Regions from separate parts of the Homo sapiens genome. Here regions 1, 3, 4, 5 and 6 are each linked to region 2. The links are contacts of gene promoters, found by promoter capture Hi-C in blood cells and fetal thymus (Javierre and others, 2016). All regions are on one chromosome and are shown on one strand. Each heading gives the region's core, a stretch centred on a gene start or on the middle of the fragment in contact. The rest is flanking DNA. Distances are from core to core; before and after follow the strand shown.

The links. The method cuts DNA at HindIII sites, captures the fragments that hold promoters and counts their contacts. A CHiCAGO score of 5 or more calls a contact.
Region 1: the fragment with the promoter of TTLL5 here is called in contact with the fragment with the promoter of SLC39A9 in region 2 in 1 of 17 cell types (non-activated CD4 T cells); the score reaches 5.9 in non-activated CD4 T cells.
Region 3: a contact is called between the fragment with the promoter of VIPAS39 here and the fragment with the promoter of SLC39A9 in region 2, in 1 of 17 cell types (non-activated CD4 T cells). The highest score is 8.2, in non-activated CD4 T cells.
Region 4: the fragment with the promoter of PPP2R5E here is called in contact with the fragment with the promoter of SLC39A9 in region 2 in 1 of 17 cell types (non-activated CD4 T cells); the score reaches 9.9 in non-activated CD4 T cells.
Region 5: a fragment that was not itself captured here is called in contact with the fragment with the promoter of SLC39A9 in region 2 in 1 of 17 cell types (non-activated CD4 T cells); the score reaches 5.7 in non-activated CD4 T cells.
Region 6: a fragment that was not itself captured here is called in contact with the fragment with the promoter of SLC39A9 in region 2 in 3 of 17 cell types (total CD8 T cells, non-activated CD4 T cells and naive B cells); the score reaches 11.9 in total CD8 T cells.

The regions. Positions count from the first base shown.
Region 1 is chr14:75,659,829-75,662,528 of GRCh38, reverse strand. TTLL5 (tubulin tyrosine ligase like 5) reads right to left here and starts at 1,283. Exons shown (of 32, transcript NM_015072.5): 1 at 1,142-1,283. It overlaps ERG28 (ergosterol biosynthesis 28 homolog), which reads left to right and starts at 1,653. Exons shown (of 5, transcript NM_007176.4): 1 at 1,653-1,754. RefSeq lists an enhancer at 1,212-1,431 and a silencer at 1,542-1,591. The HindIII fragment of the contact is 4,369 bases long and covers 1-2,276 here.
Region 2 is chr14:69,397,259-69,399,958 of GRCh38, reverse strand. It overlaps SLC39A9 (solute carrier family 39 member 9), which reads right to left and starts at 1,267. Exons shown (of 7, transcript NM_018375.5): 1 at 494-1,267. The coding sequence starts at 589. ERH (ERH mRNA splicing and mitosis factor) reads left to right here and starts at 1,660. Exons shown (of 4, transcript NM_004450.3): 1 at 1,660-1,728. The coding sequence starts at 1,726. RefSeq lists enhancers at 975-1,314, 243-1,442, 1,644-2,151, 2,152-2,660 and a silencer at 1,411-1,651. The HindIII fragment of the contact is 688 bases long and covers 804-1,491 here.
Region 3 is chr14:77,456,183-77,458,882 of GRCh38, reverse strand. It overlaps VIPAS39 (VPS33B interacting protein, apical-basolateral polarity regulator, spe-39 homolog), which reads left to right and starts at 1,282. Exons shown (of 20, transcript NM_001193315.2): 1 at 1,282-1,388. It overlaps AHSA1 (activator of HSP90 ATPase activity 1), which reads right to left and starts at 790. Exons shown (of 9, transcript NM_012111.3): 1 at 614-790. The coding sequence starts at 693. RefSeq lists enhancers at 534-713, 439-961, 884-1,343, 962-1,484. The HindIII fragment of the contact is 4,049 bases long and covers 1-2,700 here.
Region 4 is chr14:63,542,077-63,544,776 of GRCh38, reverse strand. PPP2R5E (protein phosphatase 2 regulatory subunit B'epsilon) reads left to right here and starts at 1,400. Exons shown (of 14, transcript NM_006246.5): 1 at 1,400-1,998. It overlaps LOC112268140 (loricrin-like), which reads right to left and starts at 1,993. Exons shown (of 1, transcript NR_158218.1): 1 at 113-1,993. RefSeq lists enhancers at 1,085-1,294, 357-1,348 and silencers at 1,585-1,724, 1,765-1,904. The HindIII fragment of the contact is 771 bases long and covers 1,223-1,993 here.
Region 5 is chr14:74,494,939-74,497,638 of GRCh38, reverse strand. ISCA2 (iron-sulfur cluster assembly 2) reads right to left here. Exons shown (of 4, transcript NM_194279.4): 4 at 533-2,700. The coding sequence ends at 2,639. Among named protein-coding and RNA genes, the nearest start is that of ISCA2, 2.5 kb to the right of the region's middle. The HindIII fragment of the contact is 1,823 bases long and covers 467-2,289 here.
Region 6 is chr14:77,093,371-77,096,070 of GRCh38, reverse strand. No RefSeq gene overlaps it. Among named protein-coding and RNA genes, the nearest start is that of CIPC, 3.5 kb to the left of the region's middle. The HindIII fragment of the contact is 1,194 bases long and covers 777-1,970 here.

The DNA.
Region 1 (2,700 bases), core at 34-2,533, 6.3 Mb before region 2:
CGTCTTTACTAAAAAAAAAAAAAAAAAATACAAAAAATTAGCCGGGTGTGCTGGCTCATGCCTGTAATCCCAGCTACTCGGGAGGCTGAGGGAGGAGAATCGCTTGAACCCGGGAGGCGGAGGTTGCGGTGAGCCAAGATCGCGCCATTGCACTCCAGCCTGGGCAACAAGAGTGAACTCCGTCTCAAAAAAAAAAAAACAACAAAAAACCCCTGCCAACATTTATTTAGACTCTATGACAAGCACGCTGACAAGATGCCATCATGTTTCCAGTAAAATAAATTCAACAATGAACCGAAAGATGAATATATTCTCTTGAATCAAAGGTCCATATAAATAGGTGGGGGAGGGGAGGAATGCCCTTCCACTCTTAAAAATTATTCTTCCTAAAAATCACAAAGTTTGGTACGACTCTCAAATAGACGATGAAATTAGGAAATTTCCAACACTGCATTTCTAACTTAAAATATTTTTTCTAAAGTAAAAAAGTACATGTTCGTTGTGTGTGTCAGAAGAAGAAATAGGAACTACAAATAAAAGAAACATGTTTAAATGACCATAATCCCAAATTACTCAGCGATAATTACTTGCTGTCAATCCTTCTTAACTTTTCCATGCATTCATAAATACGATGAGACTGTAAATAAGACAAAAAAAAAACAGACCCCGATAATGATCAAAGATCTTCGGCGCAATAGGCAATGTCTAACAACTTCAATGGCTTTCTTCAGGGGATTCTCAACGGGATTTCTTGATCTTTCCCAAAATGCTGGGAAGCCCTTTAAGTTTAAACAAACAAAACCTCCAAACGGGAAGGGATGCCAACCTCTCCTAGGCTGCCTGCAGAGCGGGGAGAAACAGGTCTATCGGAAGAAGAGTAGAGATACTCACCTAAGGAGACTCCTCTCCCGAAAGGAATCTGCTTCTCAGCCCCACCCCCAGCTCACCCCAATCCCACGTAGGTCCGCAGATGCTCCCCCCGGGAAGGACGGGACGACCCCGCAGCCGCGATTCAACGCGGCGCGCCCGGAAGCCAACAGCTACTCCCGGGCTCTGAGCGGGAAGTCCTGCTGCAGGCGCCAGCCCGGACCCGGGAATGCTCCTCCCTAGGGTAGGGAAGCGCGCGGGCGCAGGCGTTTACCTGTCTCATCTTCCCATGGTTCGGGGCGAGCAGGCGTGGACCGCGCTCTGCGCCTACCTCCCTCCTCCTTCCCCAGGAAGGCTCAGGGCAGCCGCCGACGGCTGCTTCCCCGGTTACTACAACAACCAACAAGCAACCGCCCGCTCGGAGCCACTGCGCAGGCGCTCATAACGCTCAGCTGCGGACGCGGGCGAATGTCGTCACCGCCGCGCAGCGCGGGCGCAGAGCCCTGCCCTCAGCTGAAGGGAGTCTTCTTTTTTTTTTTTTTTTCCGCTGTTTTTTTCTCCGCCCCTAAGAGGTTGACTCCAAACCCGGAGTTCCGCTAGGTCCAACAGGAGGGCTTACGGCGTGAGCGGCGTACCTGGGGAGAGGCTTAGGCAGCGGCAACCGCTGATTGGCAGTAAAGGGGTTCACTCCCCATCTCCTGCTCGGGCGAAACCGGGACAGCCAATCAGAGAGAGTACTGACGGAAACGGCCCAATCCTGGAGCAGGGCTGAGGGAGGGGGCGGGGACAAATGGCTCAGGTGGACTCCGGGCTGGAGCTGTCCTGGGGGAGCTTGTTTGCGGCAGCGGCTGCTGCTGCCACTGCTGTGCTGGGGGCCCGGTCGCCAGGTAAGGAGAATATGGGGGAGAAGAGGGATGTAGGTGTCTGTGTTGCTTCTGATTGAGAGGATCCGGAGAGTCTGGAAAAATGGAGGTGGGATGGAAGGAAGATAACTGGAAGGCAACCTTTTGGGGGGAAAAGGTTTCGAGAGGCGATGACAAGGGGGAGCTAGGAAGATGGAGAAGGCTTGGTGAATTCAAGGAACGAAGGAATGGATGAGCGAATGAGCAGCCACTATGAGCCTAGCACTGTACAAAGAGCCTTCACTTTTTGTCATATAATTCTTACAATAGCCCTTCGGGTTGATATTTCTATCTCCATTTTGCAGATGAGGAAACCGAGACTGAAAAGTGTAAATGACTTACCCAGGGTCACACAGCTACTAAGTGGTAGGGCCAGGATAAGAATCCCTTTCTCCTGATTAAGTTTTAACAGCACACCTATGCTGGGCTGGGCTTGGCTGGGCTGGGCCAGGGCCAGGACAAAATTTGGAAATAGATGTTGTATACACTCTAAGAGGCCCTTAAGCTTTAGGGAAATTAGGTTGAGAAATTGGCAGAGCAATTCAGAAGTGCTCAGGCTCTGTCCTCATCAGCTATCTGTTGGGATTTCTAACAGATAACACTTCTGTGAAATGGAAGGCATACTTGTGCAGAAAAGTGGAGAGGTGCATCCATGCAGCTTTTCTAAACCCCGGAGGAGTCTCCTCTTGAGAGAGAGTGAGAAAATAAAGAGGATGGGTGGATCTTGGCCCAAATGATAATGGCCTGTGATGTCCAGTAGACCCTCAGTCTCTCTGATCTTCGACAGAGACCACCTTTGTGATCCAGCTCTCCCTGAAGGGCTCATCAATTCACCCTTCCTTCTCTAGATCTCTTTATTGCTTGTTTGGGGCGGGGAGTTGGCGGGGGGGGGCGGCGGTGTTTCACACTGTCTTGGGCCATTGCTGACTTT
Region 2 (2,700 bases), core at 18-2,517:
CTCATTTGTAGGGACAAAGTCCCGCCACGTTGCCCAGGCTGGTCTAGAACTCCTGGGCCCAAGCGATCCTTCCACCTCAGCCTCCCAAAGTGCTGAGATTACAGGCGTGAGCCACCGCGCCCAGCCCTCCATTTATTTTCTTGATAACAATCTGGAATCTTGATTCCATGAAACCTCTGAGAATCAAAAGAAATGTTATGGTGCCTCTCTCCAGGTAAATGCACAGAACCTCAAATTTTTGTAAGCAATTCTAGGGGATTCAGAATACTCCAGGATCTTCCGTGGAATATCTATCCACCCCAGGTTAAGAATTCCACTAATGAATATGAGGTTTCTTTCTATTATTAAGTGTCATGTATCTTTTAAAAAAGATAGTCTTTCTTAATGAGACCTTCAGCTTTGAGATTTAACTAGGGAAGCAGCTTCCCTTTGCAACTAAAACTACTATCTCACAGCCATCCTGACAGCTGACAGAAAATTGAGAATTTCTTACCTCTGAGAAATTAACAGCCAAGGGAATGATTCCGGCCACGTAACATCCCACCAACATAGCCAGAGACAGCAGGCTAATGGAGATGAAATCATCCATTCTGCCCTCCTTTATTCACCCACAACCACTAGACAACAAATTTCCAGTGGCTTTAAATGGTGCTTAGGTTCTTTAAACAGGTGTGGTGGTTCCAAGAGAGTGGGCTTTCCAGTTCTTTAGGCCTTCCCACCAGCAGATGTGTTCACGAGGCACCTTCCTCTTGAACGTACCCGGCAACAGACCCTTTTTGCTGATATTAGCACCAGAGAAAGCTTACAGCAATCTAAGGTCCCAGGCTCTGGGTTCTCAGATGCCAGTCATTAGATTCTCGTGGGTTAACAGAGATGGGAAAAGTCAATGGGGAAAATGTGCGAATGATCGATTTCTTCGATTGTCGGATTGAGGGTGGCACAATGTCTTAGGCGGCGGCGGGTAAGTGACTCAAGCGAACCTGTTCGTTCCCTAGGCGCCCCTGTCTCCAAGAGGCGGCCCCGAAGGTGATCCGCCCCCCAGAGCAGGAAACCAGCCCACCAGTCCCAGCAAACTCTCCTCCGAGCCTGGGATGAGGAAAGGAGTCCTGCAGGTCTCTAACGATGGGTCCTAGGGGTTCAGCAGCAAAGTTGACACAAAGCTGTCTCTGCCCTATACCCGGTGCTGCCCATGGTACTGCACTCGACCGGGCCTTGACCCGGAGTCGCCGATACTACAGCTGCCATGGCCGCCAAGTGGCATCTCTTCATTCCATCCACTTCCGGATTGTCTAACCACCCCCTCCTTTACAAAGGCACTTCCGGGTTACAACCGACCTCCGGCCCAGGATACTTACGTTGCCGCCATTTTTGAGTAGGGCTAATGAAAGATGTCTGATGTCACTGTCTATACCGGTGATCACTTGAGCCGTATGTTTAATAACGAAAGTACGGAAGACAGCGTCTTGAAAAAAAATAATTCTTCCTAAAGCTTGGAAACTTTCCCTTACCTTTTTGCCTTTATCGAAGATGGCTGAAACAGAGTCAGTAGCTGCTCTAGCTGCCGGAAGTGACTGTGCCTCTATGATCCAAAAGGCTCTTTTGCGTTGCACTTTCGACGACTTCCGGCGGCTCCTCTCGCGAGGATTGGCTGTTAGCGGCGTTGTAGTTAAGCTCGTGTAACGGCGGCGGTGTCGGCAGCTGCTGTAGCGAAGAGAGTTTGGCGCGATGGTGAGAAAGGCCTCCGCGGCTACCCGAGTCCGAGTCCCCGGCCTCCAGAGCGACCCCAGCCCCATACGTTTTCCCCTCCCCACGAGCCCCATGCAGCGCCGCGTGATGCTCCCCGCCACTCTAGTCGGTGGATTGACCCTTCTTCCCGCCGCAGGGACGCCAGGCCTGACTCTAGGCCTCGGAGCCCCGGTCCGCCCTGCGGTTGCGCGCCCGCCTGCTCGCTCGGGTCCGGCGTGCCTTGGGCCTGAGGATGAACTCTCTCCCGATTGTTACTCGGTAGAGGGAGACGTGGGGGAGGTGTTTTGTTTTTTGAGATAGAGAGTCTCACTCTATCGCCCAGGCTGGAGTGCAGTGGCGGGATCTCAGACCCCTGCAACCTCTGCCTCCTGGGTTGAAGCAATTCTCCTGTCTCAGCCTCCCTAGTAGCTGGGATTACAGGCGCCCGCCACCTCGCTCGGCTAATTTTTTTATTTTAGCAGAGACGGCGTTTCACCATGTTGGCCAGGCTGGTCTCGAACTCCTGACCTCAAGCAATCCACCCGCCTCGGCATCCCAAAGTGCTGGGATTACAGGCGTGAGCCACCGGGCCCTGCCGGATATGGTATTTTTCCCTCCAAATGCTCTAGCCTGCTGTAGGAACAATGGGCCAGGGTTGTCTAACTATTCTCGAAGCTGACAGATCCAGCTATACCCAGCATGTGGGCCAGGAGAGGACGTATTTGCTTTGCAGTGTTTTTTCAGCTTTCGTTTTCCTGTGCTCTGCCTTTTTTTTTTTTTTCCTGTTTTTGAGACCTCTAGGTATTGCGTGTGGCGCGTCCCTCAGCCCTCGATCCTGTACTTATCTGTATTTATATCCTCTTGGGGCTGGAGGCTGAAAAGTAGGCTCAGCTCAGAGACCAGCTCTATTAGAACCCAACCGGGATGATCAGTAAGCTCCAATTCGAAGAAAGTGACCAAAACTGGCTTGAGAGG
Region 3 (2,700 bases), core at 33-2,532, 8.1 Mb before region 2:
AGATTTCATGAAGGAGGGCAGTTATTTTAAGAACGGTCAGGTTATAAAACCACGGCTGCTCGGCAACCTGGAGTTCCAACACACCCGACCTGATAGTTCCGGGTGAGAGGCCGCAGCTATCTGAGCTCTGAGCACCTGCACAACACGTTCTCAATCTCCCGCGGGACCGCTGCAGCGGTCCCCTATGAATGACTTTTAATTTTACCGCAGGCCGCAAAATAGGAATTACAGACCCCTGGCCTTAGGCCTTTCACAGCTATCTCCCAACACAATCAAAGGAGGTTCCAGTCTCAGTGACTCCTCTGGCCACGTGTAATAAGCACCTCCCTGCTCGGGCTGGATGCAGCAGCCAGGGCGTTATCTCCTAGTCTCTCTGACAACCCTCCTCTGGGGCGCAGCCCTCCACGTCCATCTCCCTCCCCTCAAACACTGAGAAGGTGACCGCGGAGTGGAGAGGCCTGGGGCTACGGACCCCTGCCACAGGAAGGACCCACCCCCATCTCCGGACAGGGCTACCTCAGCCCCAGCTCTGTCCGGGCCGAGGTTCTAGGAACCCTGAAACCCTGGCCCGGCCGCAGGTCTCCCAAGGCCGGCCTGCTTTTCTGGCCCTCACCAGTGCCAGTTGTTGACGTTGGTGGCGTCCGCCCGCTCCTCCACGATCCAGCGTGGGTCTCCCTCACCCCACTTGGCCATCGGCTCTCCTATCGCGGCGCCACCAGCTCCGGAGCAGCCGTAGCCACAGCCTCAGGACCGCTTAGTGCCAGCCGCCCGGCAGCGCCTGGAAACTACTAGAAGCGGCCGCAAGCACCTCCTGGCTTGCTTTTCCCTCCACCCCCTCCCCTCCTTAACTTCCGGCTCCTCCCCACTCCCACCGGTTACTTCCGTCCCAACTCGCCGCACCGTGGGTTCCGCCTGATTTAGAGATCCTTCAGACTCCATCGGGTTCTCCCCAAAAAGCGTCCCGAAACCCAACTGCTCATACAACCATTCCTCACCCATAGGAAAACAAAGAACACGTCTCATTGCTTCCCTGGACCCTAAATCGCCCTTGCTGAGCCTCATGGGAATTGTAGTCTTGCTACGTGACTCGCTGGATAACCGCGGAAGGTCTCGCGGAAAGGAGAGGAAATGACCTAGCACGGTGCTTGGGGTTTCTGGGGGCTGTAGTCAAGAAGCCTTGTGGTTCGTCGGGACAGCGCCTGACAGCAGAGGCAGAAGAAACTACGACTTCCAGCATGCCCTGCGGTCTCGTTATTCGTGTTTTCTCTCCGCCCTACGATTATTCCCTTCCGCCCCCTTCTCTAAGCTGCACAGCCTGAATAGAAGGGCTGGTCCAGCGGCGGCGGAGGCTGGCGCTGTCCTGAGAGGGAGGGCTCTGTGCGGAAGAGGTGAGGGTGTCCCAAGCCCCTTGGGTCGCGTATCTGGCTGGATCCAGCCTCTCCGCATCTTGATCTTTTCCCCTCTTCTAGGAGGCATCCCTACACCCTATGACTACAGGCCTGATTCTCTTCTTTCAGTCAGGGCGACCCTTGGGCGCTGGAGTACGCTTGGGACTGGGGCTGCGAGTGAGCACCAGCGATTGGTTCGGAAGCGGACATTTGGTTCAGAACGAGCATTTAACTCTGCCAGGGATCCGCTGGGCTCTGACGACTGCGGTAGATCCATGGCTTCCTGGACGTTCACCCGTAGAGTCATCCTAGCTTAACTCTTGTTCCCTGGTCTCAGTTCACAAGCCTCACCTGTATCTTCCTGGCTCGGAAGATAATTGAAACCAAGTCTGACTTCTCAGTAGGTGGTTTTTGGAGTTTTCTGAGGCAGGGAGCATGTTGTGGTTTTCTTGCTGATTCTTCTGTTTTCCTTTGTAAAGTTCCTGTTCTCCCCTGAGGTCTCTCACCCTGCCTTGTGGGCTGTCAGTAAACAAGAGACGATAAAGACAAACCTCTGAAGTATTTTAAATCATGTTGAAGCACCTGTCACTCTTAAGAGTGACAATCGTACCTGATTACTTTATAACTCTAGAGCCACTAGATCATTATCTATACTTGCCAAGTAAACCTAGCTTCTCATTTGGCGTTATAAATACAAATTGATGGCAGTTGTCTACTGCCATTGCATGGTTAAAAAGATTCCAGAAATCCTCTGGTAGATTATTGTGTTTGTTAGACACATTCTATGTCTATCTGTAGATAATTACTATAGTGAAGGAATGATCTCTAGTTTTCTGGAAAGTGAAAAATAGGTAGAAGGACCATGCAAGACACTAGAAATGGTCTAGGAGCCAGAAAGCCTGGATTGTAATTTGAAATAGGAGCATTTAACAAAGTGGCTTTGATACTGAACTCTTTTGTGCCTCACTTTCCCCATGAGTAACATGGAAATGGAATCTCCCAGGCCTACCTTACAAGATTGTTCTGAGGATCAAACGAATGACAGAGTGATTTATGAACTGACATGTGTGCCAGAGACATTTATATGTTCTATACACATCTTCAGCATTTGTGGCTACTCAGAATTTTTGTATTTTTTTTAATCTTTAGGATTGCTAAAAAATATTTTCTTTTTTAGCTTTTCCCAAGGTACCAGGATGATGTATTAATAATAAAAGTTACTATTGAGTGTTAATTTTGGGTCAGGCACTAAGCACTTTACATGTATTAACTGGTTTACTCCTCAGAACCATTTCTAAGGTAGGTCATCTGT
Region 4 (2,700 bases), core at 151-2,650, 5.9 Mb after region 2:
ATCTTTCATGGCACAAAATTATTTTTCCACTCAAGAGCCATTTCTGGGAGTGTGCAAAGAAAATTTCAAAACTCTAGTGTTTAACAACACAAACAGGAGAAATGCAAATGCATTTTTCGTTGTCACTTGTACATATGGTACATATAGTTTTATTTATATATAGCTCTATTCCCTAACCGTATCGAAAAGATGATATAATGCTGAGGGAAAAAACTAGGCTACAGATCGACACACATTATTAACATAAAGAGAAAAAATACTAAAAGGAAGTATGCAAATACTGTAAGTGGTTATCTCTGAGTTGAGAAAATAAGAATGTTAATTTTTTTGTCCCCCCCCCCAATTTCTAAGTTTTGAACAACTGGTACTCTGACGTTTGTAGTTAGCATTAATAATTTCTTTCTTCCTTTTTTCCTCTCAAAAAATGTACGTAGGGTGCATTCAAATACATTAATCCAAGAATATTATCTGGAAATGTACCATTTGGCCGTCTGCATTCACCAAGCATGCAAACACATCTCCAAATATCTCATCACTTGTTCTAGATAGATTTAAGTAGTCTTCTCCATTAACTCTTTCGGGTCCAACTTGCCAATTAAAATCTCGAAACTCCTAGTTTGGAGCTGGGTCTTTCCGAGCTCTGAGCAGTCGGCTGACTGGCGGGTTATTCTGAATGAATAGACTGCAAACTGTGGCGACAGCGTTCCCACCTGCATTAATTAAACGAGCGCTGGCTTCAACGCTACAGGGGTCTGATATTCAAAACAGACGTTTAAGGAAAAGGAGATGAGGTGAGAGAAAATTCGAAGAAGGTTCAGCGGAGAGCGACTGCTGGGGGTTTCAAGGGGCCCATTTACACAAGCAGTGGCACACCGGCACGGGCGGGGGATCTTATTCCTGCCTACGCATCACAGGGTCCCGTCCAGAGTGGGACTCCCCAAACCCTGAGGGGCCACACTAGCTGCAGGGCGGGATCAAGTCTCCGGGGCTCCCCGACCCTTAGACGACCCGAGCCCTTGGAATCCTCCGGTCCAAGACGACCGCCGCCCAAAGGCTCCGCACAGCACGGAAAGCCAGCCCGCTGATCCGCTAGTCGCACACCTCCCGGAATTAAAGAGCTCCTCTCAGGCCCAGCGGCTTCTCACTTCAGCTTGCCCCACTGCCGGGCGGAAGCGGCGGCTGCACCGCCCGAGATCGCGGCTGCATCCGGGTTCCTCAAGCTTCGGCCCAATCCTCGACCTTCTCTCTTCCCACCCTCCCGTTTCTCCGCCCTCCTGCCGCCAATCCCTGATCAGGTCTCAGCCGAACATGCTGTCAGGGGAGTGAAGGCGGATACTGGCCAATGAGGCCTCGCTTCCCGTTTGAAGTCTCCAGTGGGCGGGCGCCGGAGGCGGGCGCTGCTGGCCAGAAGGTTCGGTTGCGCGTGTGCCATGGACTCAGCCGCCCGGTGATATTGACAATAGGAGAGAGAAAGGGGCATTGACTGGGACCCACCGCGGGTAGCGAAAGGTGGCTCTGGCAGCGGCGGCTCCAGCTCCTGCGGCTCCTCCTCCTTATTCTGTCCCCTTCTCTTGCTGCCGCTGCAGATCCAGTCTTCCTCCCTCCCTTCCCCCCCTCCCCACGTCGTCGCCGCCGCCGCCGGGTCCGGGGCAACGAGCTGAGGCGCCGCCCGCCAGGAATGTGAGCGAGGAGCCACCGGCGGAGCCGCAACGGGGTCGGTGCCGATTTGATGGGACGGGCCCGCGGGGGAGGATCGTGAGGCCGCCGCCGCCACCGGAACGCTGAGGTTCGGGTCCGGCCGTGAGGCCTAGAGGCTCCGCCGCCGCGGAACCGGAGGGACCCCGTACCGGACAGCCGTCGCCCCAGGCTCCCCGCAGCTGCCCGGACCTCCCCCTGCACGTCCCGGTCCCGCCGCCCGCCCCCGCTGCGGCCACCTCGCCCGTCTCCCGCCCCTCCAAGCCACAGATCATCTTTGGATTCTTCCCCAGAAGCTTCAAGGTAACTTAGTCCCTCCAGCACCGCGGCTCGCCCGCTTCCCTTCTTCCTCCCGGTCCTCCTGGGGAACCTATGGGGCACCGGCCTTGGGAAGGCCTGGCCGGGCAGGCGAGGGGTGCGGTGGGGTGGGGTGCGGGAGCGGGAGCGCCCGTCCCACTTGTCTGATTTACCTACAAATGCTTCTGATGATACCTCTCATTCACTCTGCCCCCTCCCCCCTTTTTCTCCACCTTCTGGGATTGGAGGCGTTTTCTTGCCCCCCTTTATCCACTGGCGGGGGCGGGGAATAAAGAGGGGTTTGGTGTGAGGAGGATTCTCTAGCAGCTTATCGTCTCCAGGGCTTGGGGTGTGGGTTAGGAGCAAAGGGAGTATGTAAGCATCCCCACAGACAAACCCCTTCCCTGTCTTTCCCTACTTCCCCTTACCCCCTTTGGATTATCCTGAGCCATGGAAATGCCCCATGCCTGCTGATTAGAGGATGATAAAGCTTCGGGAGCCCTGGCCCAGGGCGAAACCTGTTTCCCTGGGCTTTGCACGGACCCGCTGTTACCTTACGTTCAGTTTTGCAGTGCTTCAGGGTTGCGATCCTTGACGTTTATTCTGGGCCTCGGGCATAAGGGGTAAATGATTTTTTTAAAAGCTACCTATATATCGTCTGTAGAGATGAGAGATAAGGAATAAAGAAGAGACGAAAAGAGTGATGGA
Region 5 (2,700 bases), core at 129-2,628, 5.1 Mb before region 2:
TATGGGTGGGCCAGGCATGGTGGCTCGTGCCTGTAATACCGGCACTTTGGGAGGCTGAGGCAGGAGGATTGCTTGAGCCCAGGAGTTCGAGACTCCTGTGCAACATGGTGAAACCCCATCTCTACAAAAAATACAAAAAGTAGCTGGGCTTGGTGGTGTGCACCTGTAGTCCTAGCTACTTGCAGGGGCTGAGGTGGGAAGATTGTTTGAGCCTGGGAGGTAGAGGCTGCACCTCTGCACTCCAGCCTAGGAGACAGATTGAGACCCTGCCTCAAATAAAAAGAAAGAAACTAAGAGTGGATGGGACACATAATTTACATACCCTTGGTCACTCTCATCACATAACTCAAGTATGGTACCACAATAAGATCTGGGCATTGACCAAGAGACCTTCTCTTTGAAAAACAACATAAAGTCTCCACCAATGGAGACTTCCTGCTGCCACTTCTGGTTTCCCAATGAAGCTTTCTCAGTGTGAAGTAACATGATTTTCCCAAATCCGCCTTTTTTTTTTTTTTTTTTTTTTTTGAGACAGAGTCTCACTCTGCCACCCAGGCTGGAGTCCAGTGGTGCAATCTTGGCTCACTGCAATCTCCACCTCCTGGGTTCAAGTGATTCTCTTGCCTCAGTCTCCCGAGTAGCTGGGATTACAGGTGTCCACCACGCAGTTAATTTTTGTATTTTTAGTAGAGATGGGGTTTCACCATGTTGCCCAGGCTGGTCTCAAACTCCTGACCTCAGGTGATCTGCCTGCTTTGGCCTCCCAAAGTGCTGGGATCACAGGCGTGAGCCACCGTGCCCAGCCCCAAATCTGCCTTTTTCTAAACATAAAATTCCAATTCTCCCATTAACAGTAGATACTCACATATAAGCTGCATTCTAAGGGACTGTTTCTGTCTAGTGCACCACTGTAATTTGATTGATTTAGCAACAAAAGCTGTTCTGCTCGTGCTCAAGAGTTTTAAAACCACAAAATCAATAAATAACCCACAAAAATATTCTTAAAGAATATATTCTAATGTTTAAAATGTAGCAAAATCTTTTTAAGGAGGATGAAAGGACAGGTAGTCTGAACTGAAACCCTATCAGGCGCAGGTACTGGCGGCACTGTCTTGGTCATGTGTGCACACAGATGCTCCCATGGTATGCTGCTTTCTGCCTCCTTCCACCAGCTCTAAGAAATGTGCTCAGGTTTCTGAGTGTCCCCTTCTCTCCTCTAACCGCATGATAGGTTTGTTTTCTCTAAGTCCTAGGTTTTGCCATGTTGGAAATGTATCTAAGTTTCTGTCTCAGATATTTTCTAAACTCTATTTCCATTTTTTTAAATAGTAAATTCTTACTAAATGACCTTAATTCCAATCCAGTGCAGAAATGCAAGTCTTTACTGTAACAAACTTCTAGGCTCCCAAGCAAAAGATGGATTTAACCAGTAACTCTTCCAGAATCAACTTGGTTGTAGTTTCTCCAACATCAGTATTAATAAATCATTCGGTGTGGTGATGGTGGTAGATTTCTTTCACTGTCTGTCCACACAGCTCCACAGTACTCTAACAGGATTATTTCAAGCTCCGAAGCCTATTTAAGTGCCACACCTACACAAGTACTTTAATTCACTAGAATTTGTGATTTTAAAAGCTGTTTGGTGACCCTAAAGCAGAGTTGCCAAGGTCAGCAAATAAAAATATGAGTTAAATTTGAATTTCAAATAGTAATTTTTAGTATATGCAATATTTGAGACATATGCATACTAAAAAATTATTTACCTGAAATTCAAATTTAACTGGGCATCCTACATTTCATCTGGTAACCCAATCTAAAAAAAGGTTCCCAAGAATCTATTACCTATAACAATAAAGGGATCACTTCCTGCTGTGCATGAGACCAGAGCCATTTTACAACAGAAGGCAGGTAAAGCAACATATCCTAAAAAGATTCAGTCATTAAATTGTCACAGAATCTTAAAATGTCTGTATGAGTAGGGAGGCTATTTTTGAAATAATTCACTATCAGTGAGGGTTTGGTCCAAGTTTTCTGGGTAACGGGCTCTTGGTTTTATGACTCATAGCAGATCCACGAGCATGAGAGTAAAATGTATCTGTCCTATCAAACAGGAAGTGGCAAATGGGTTGCATAGACAATAAAGATAAGTCAAGTGGCACATTCTGGCAGGGTGAAGTGAAAAAGAGAACATTTCATTTACTTTTCTCATCCTCTAATAACTGGTGTCCAAGCTACCCAATCTGTGACCCTGATCCACAACACAATAAGAACCTTCTTTAAAATGAAGCTTTTATACATAGCTATCCACATATGTACAAGCAGCTCTTAAGGCAAGAGAAGTTAATTCCAAATTTTAGAGCCATGGAGGCTCTACAGATTATACGGAGTTTCAACCAGTGATTAAATCTGAGGTAACAGCATCTGGAGGCTCAGCCTTAGCACTGAGTGGAGGGAAAAATTAAGCCAAGAGTAAAATCTTCACATTCTGAAAATAATAGTGGCAAAACATAACACTCCTGGACTGCGGGAAATAAAATTGAGAGGGACATGATTAGAAGTAAACTTCTAGAATTCTACTAATTCCAGGTTCTTCAAATTGGTACAACTGGTGACAATCCCAGAGTCACCAGTCATCACATCAAAGTTTGATAGAGAAAGATGACCCACAGGAGCAGCCTTGCTGTGCTTGAGGATTGTTCA
Region 6 (2,700 bases), core at 124-2,623, 7.7 Mb before region 2:
CTCACTCATAAGTGGGAGTTAAGCTATGAGGATGTAAAGGCATAAGGATGATACAGTGGACTTTGGGGACTCAAGGGGAAAGGGTGGGAAGGGGGTGAGGGATAAAAGACTACAAATTGGGTGCAGTGTATACTGCTCAGGTGATGGGTTCACCAAAATCTCACAAATCACCGCTTAAGAACTTACTCATATAACCAAAATGCCACCTGTTCCCCAAAAACCTATGGAAATAAAAAATTTAAAAAACAGCAGCATGGATACTAGGCTTAATACCTGGGTAACGAAATCATCTGTACAACAAACCGCCATGACACAAGTTTACCTATGTAACGAATCTGCACACGTATCCCTGAACTTAAATAAAAAACAAAACAAAAATAAAATTCAAAAAAAAAAAGAATAAAAGTCTGCCTTCAAATAACTTACAATCTGATATGGGAAATAAGACATGATGTAATAAGCAATATGAAAGAGAATGGGATAACTACCAAAAGATTCTGAACAAAACAATAACATTAAGGGAGAAAAAAAAAACTTTCTTTTTCGGTTGTTGGAGTAGAAAGAGACCAGCAGGTAAAGCTTTAAAGACAGCTTGAAAGTTGGGTTTGCAATAATGGAAGCAGGTGAGGGGATAATGCATACCAAGCAAAAAAGAATCAGTGAAATATGCGAAAGCATGAGGCCCTCTTAGTCCTCCGAAGGGGCAAATAAACCAAACTTCCTTGACTTTACCTACATCTTGAGCAGACAGCCATGCTGTACCAATAACTTAAGCTTCAGACAAGTATTGTAATGGAACCAAATGAATCAAGACTAATGATAGGCATAATTTTTATGATTATTTTATGCTATGATTCTATATAATTAGATATACAGAATAAGCAATTCATGAAGATTGATAGTGAATATTTTTATGTAGCTAAACCACCGTAAACGTTTTTCTTCCTTTCCTATTAATTTACCAAGATTTGTAAATCAGCATCTATTGATAGTTTACTGGTGCCACGAATTCTTTAACCTTCACTCACTTTACTCTCTTTACTCTTGGTTGGAGTAAGGACCCTATGATGGATGGGGTAAGGACCCTGTGATGGATAGTGGGTTCTGAAGCACCTATTCTTCTTGCTGTAGGGTCCTTTCCAATTCAAGTTCTCCCCAGTACCATTGTGGTCTAGGTTCGGTTTCCTACCACCACAACCAGCAGGGGGAGACATGCGCCCTTAAATCCTACATTTAGGGACTTGCGAATGTTTCTTTTTTTTTCCCATCTACTTCTTGAAATTGTAACCTGCCTATCCGTGTGAGGATTTGAGTTTTTAACCCTGCCTAGGATACCATGAAGAGTCAGCCATGGGCCGAGTTTTATTTGAAGATATTTTAAGTGTATTATGTTATACAATTTAAAATATTTATAAACGATTGTTTAATAATTGTTGAATTTAAAATTAAAGTCATTTAAAAATATTTAAAAGTGGGCCAGGCGCAGTGGCTCACACCTGTAATCCCAGCACTTTGGGAGGCCAAGGCGGGCAGATCACTAGGTCAGGAGTTCAAGACCAGCCTGGCCAACGTGGTGAAACCCCGTCTCTACTGAAAATACAAAAATTAGCTGGGCATGGTGGCATGCGCCTTTAATCCCAGCCACTCAGGGGGCTGAGGCAGGAGAATTGCTTGAATCCAGGAGGCGGAGGCTGCAGTGAGCTGAAATTGTGCCACTGCACTCCAGCCTGGGTGACAGAGCGAGACTCCGTCTCAAAAAAAAAAAAAAAAAAAATTTAGAAGTAATTAAAATAGTGTAATAGGAGACGGTGAAAGTCAGTGATCTAGTTTCAAATTCCAGCTCCTATCAATATCATTTTACAAAAGAAGGGTCATTTTGATATCTTTTCCGTATACACAGAAGGGAAGATAGGACATAACCTCACAATTTAAAAATAGAATAATTTCGGGTGTATGAAAAACTTAAAGCTTTTAGTCTTATTTTTCCAGTTTGGCTGAAGACTGGTGAAAACATCACCACAAGGACTGGCAACAGTTCTTGGACTGGTGTTTGGGAACCATTGATTTCATTTTCCTGAACCTCAGTTTGGCCGTCTGTAAAATAGTTATCCTGTAGTTTGAATCTAGCATCTAGCATTATTGGTGCTGATCACTTCATAAGTCTTTAAATAGGATTTGATGGAGTGGTAAGTGTGTCTCATGGGTCAGTGAGAGAAGAGAGGGGCTCCAGCCTGTGTGGGCAGGGGGATCTACAGGTGCCAGATGGCAGAGGCAGAGGCCAGTGATAGTGGGATGTATGACCTTTTTTCCCTTAGCAGTCAGGTAACAAGGCCCTCACCAGCCAGACTGGTTCTTGGCTCATATTTTAGGGAAGTATTTGGCAGAGCAGGTACACTAAAAGGGTAATATTCAGGTTATGGTCAGGCTGTTCATATACAGGTGAAGGTTTTGATTTTAGAGACAGTGTAAACCCTTCCCACATAGCCCTCTGTCTTCTTGCTGATACTTGAAATTCCTTTAAGGAATTGCTTGACACCAAGATACTCTAGAACCCAAGACAAATTCTTCCATAACAACACGTAGTGCTTATTATTTGCCAGATGCTGTCCTAAGTGATTTGCCTACATTTATTCATTTAATCCTCCCACTGTCTATGAGATGGGTGTAGTATCATTATTTTCTTTTTACAGAGCAGGAGGC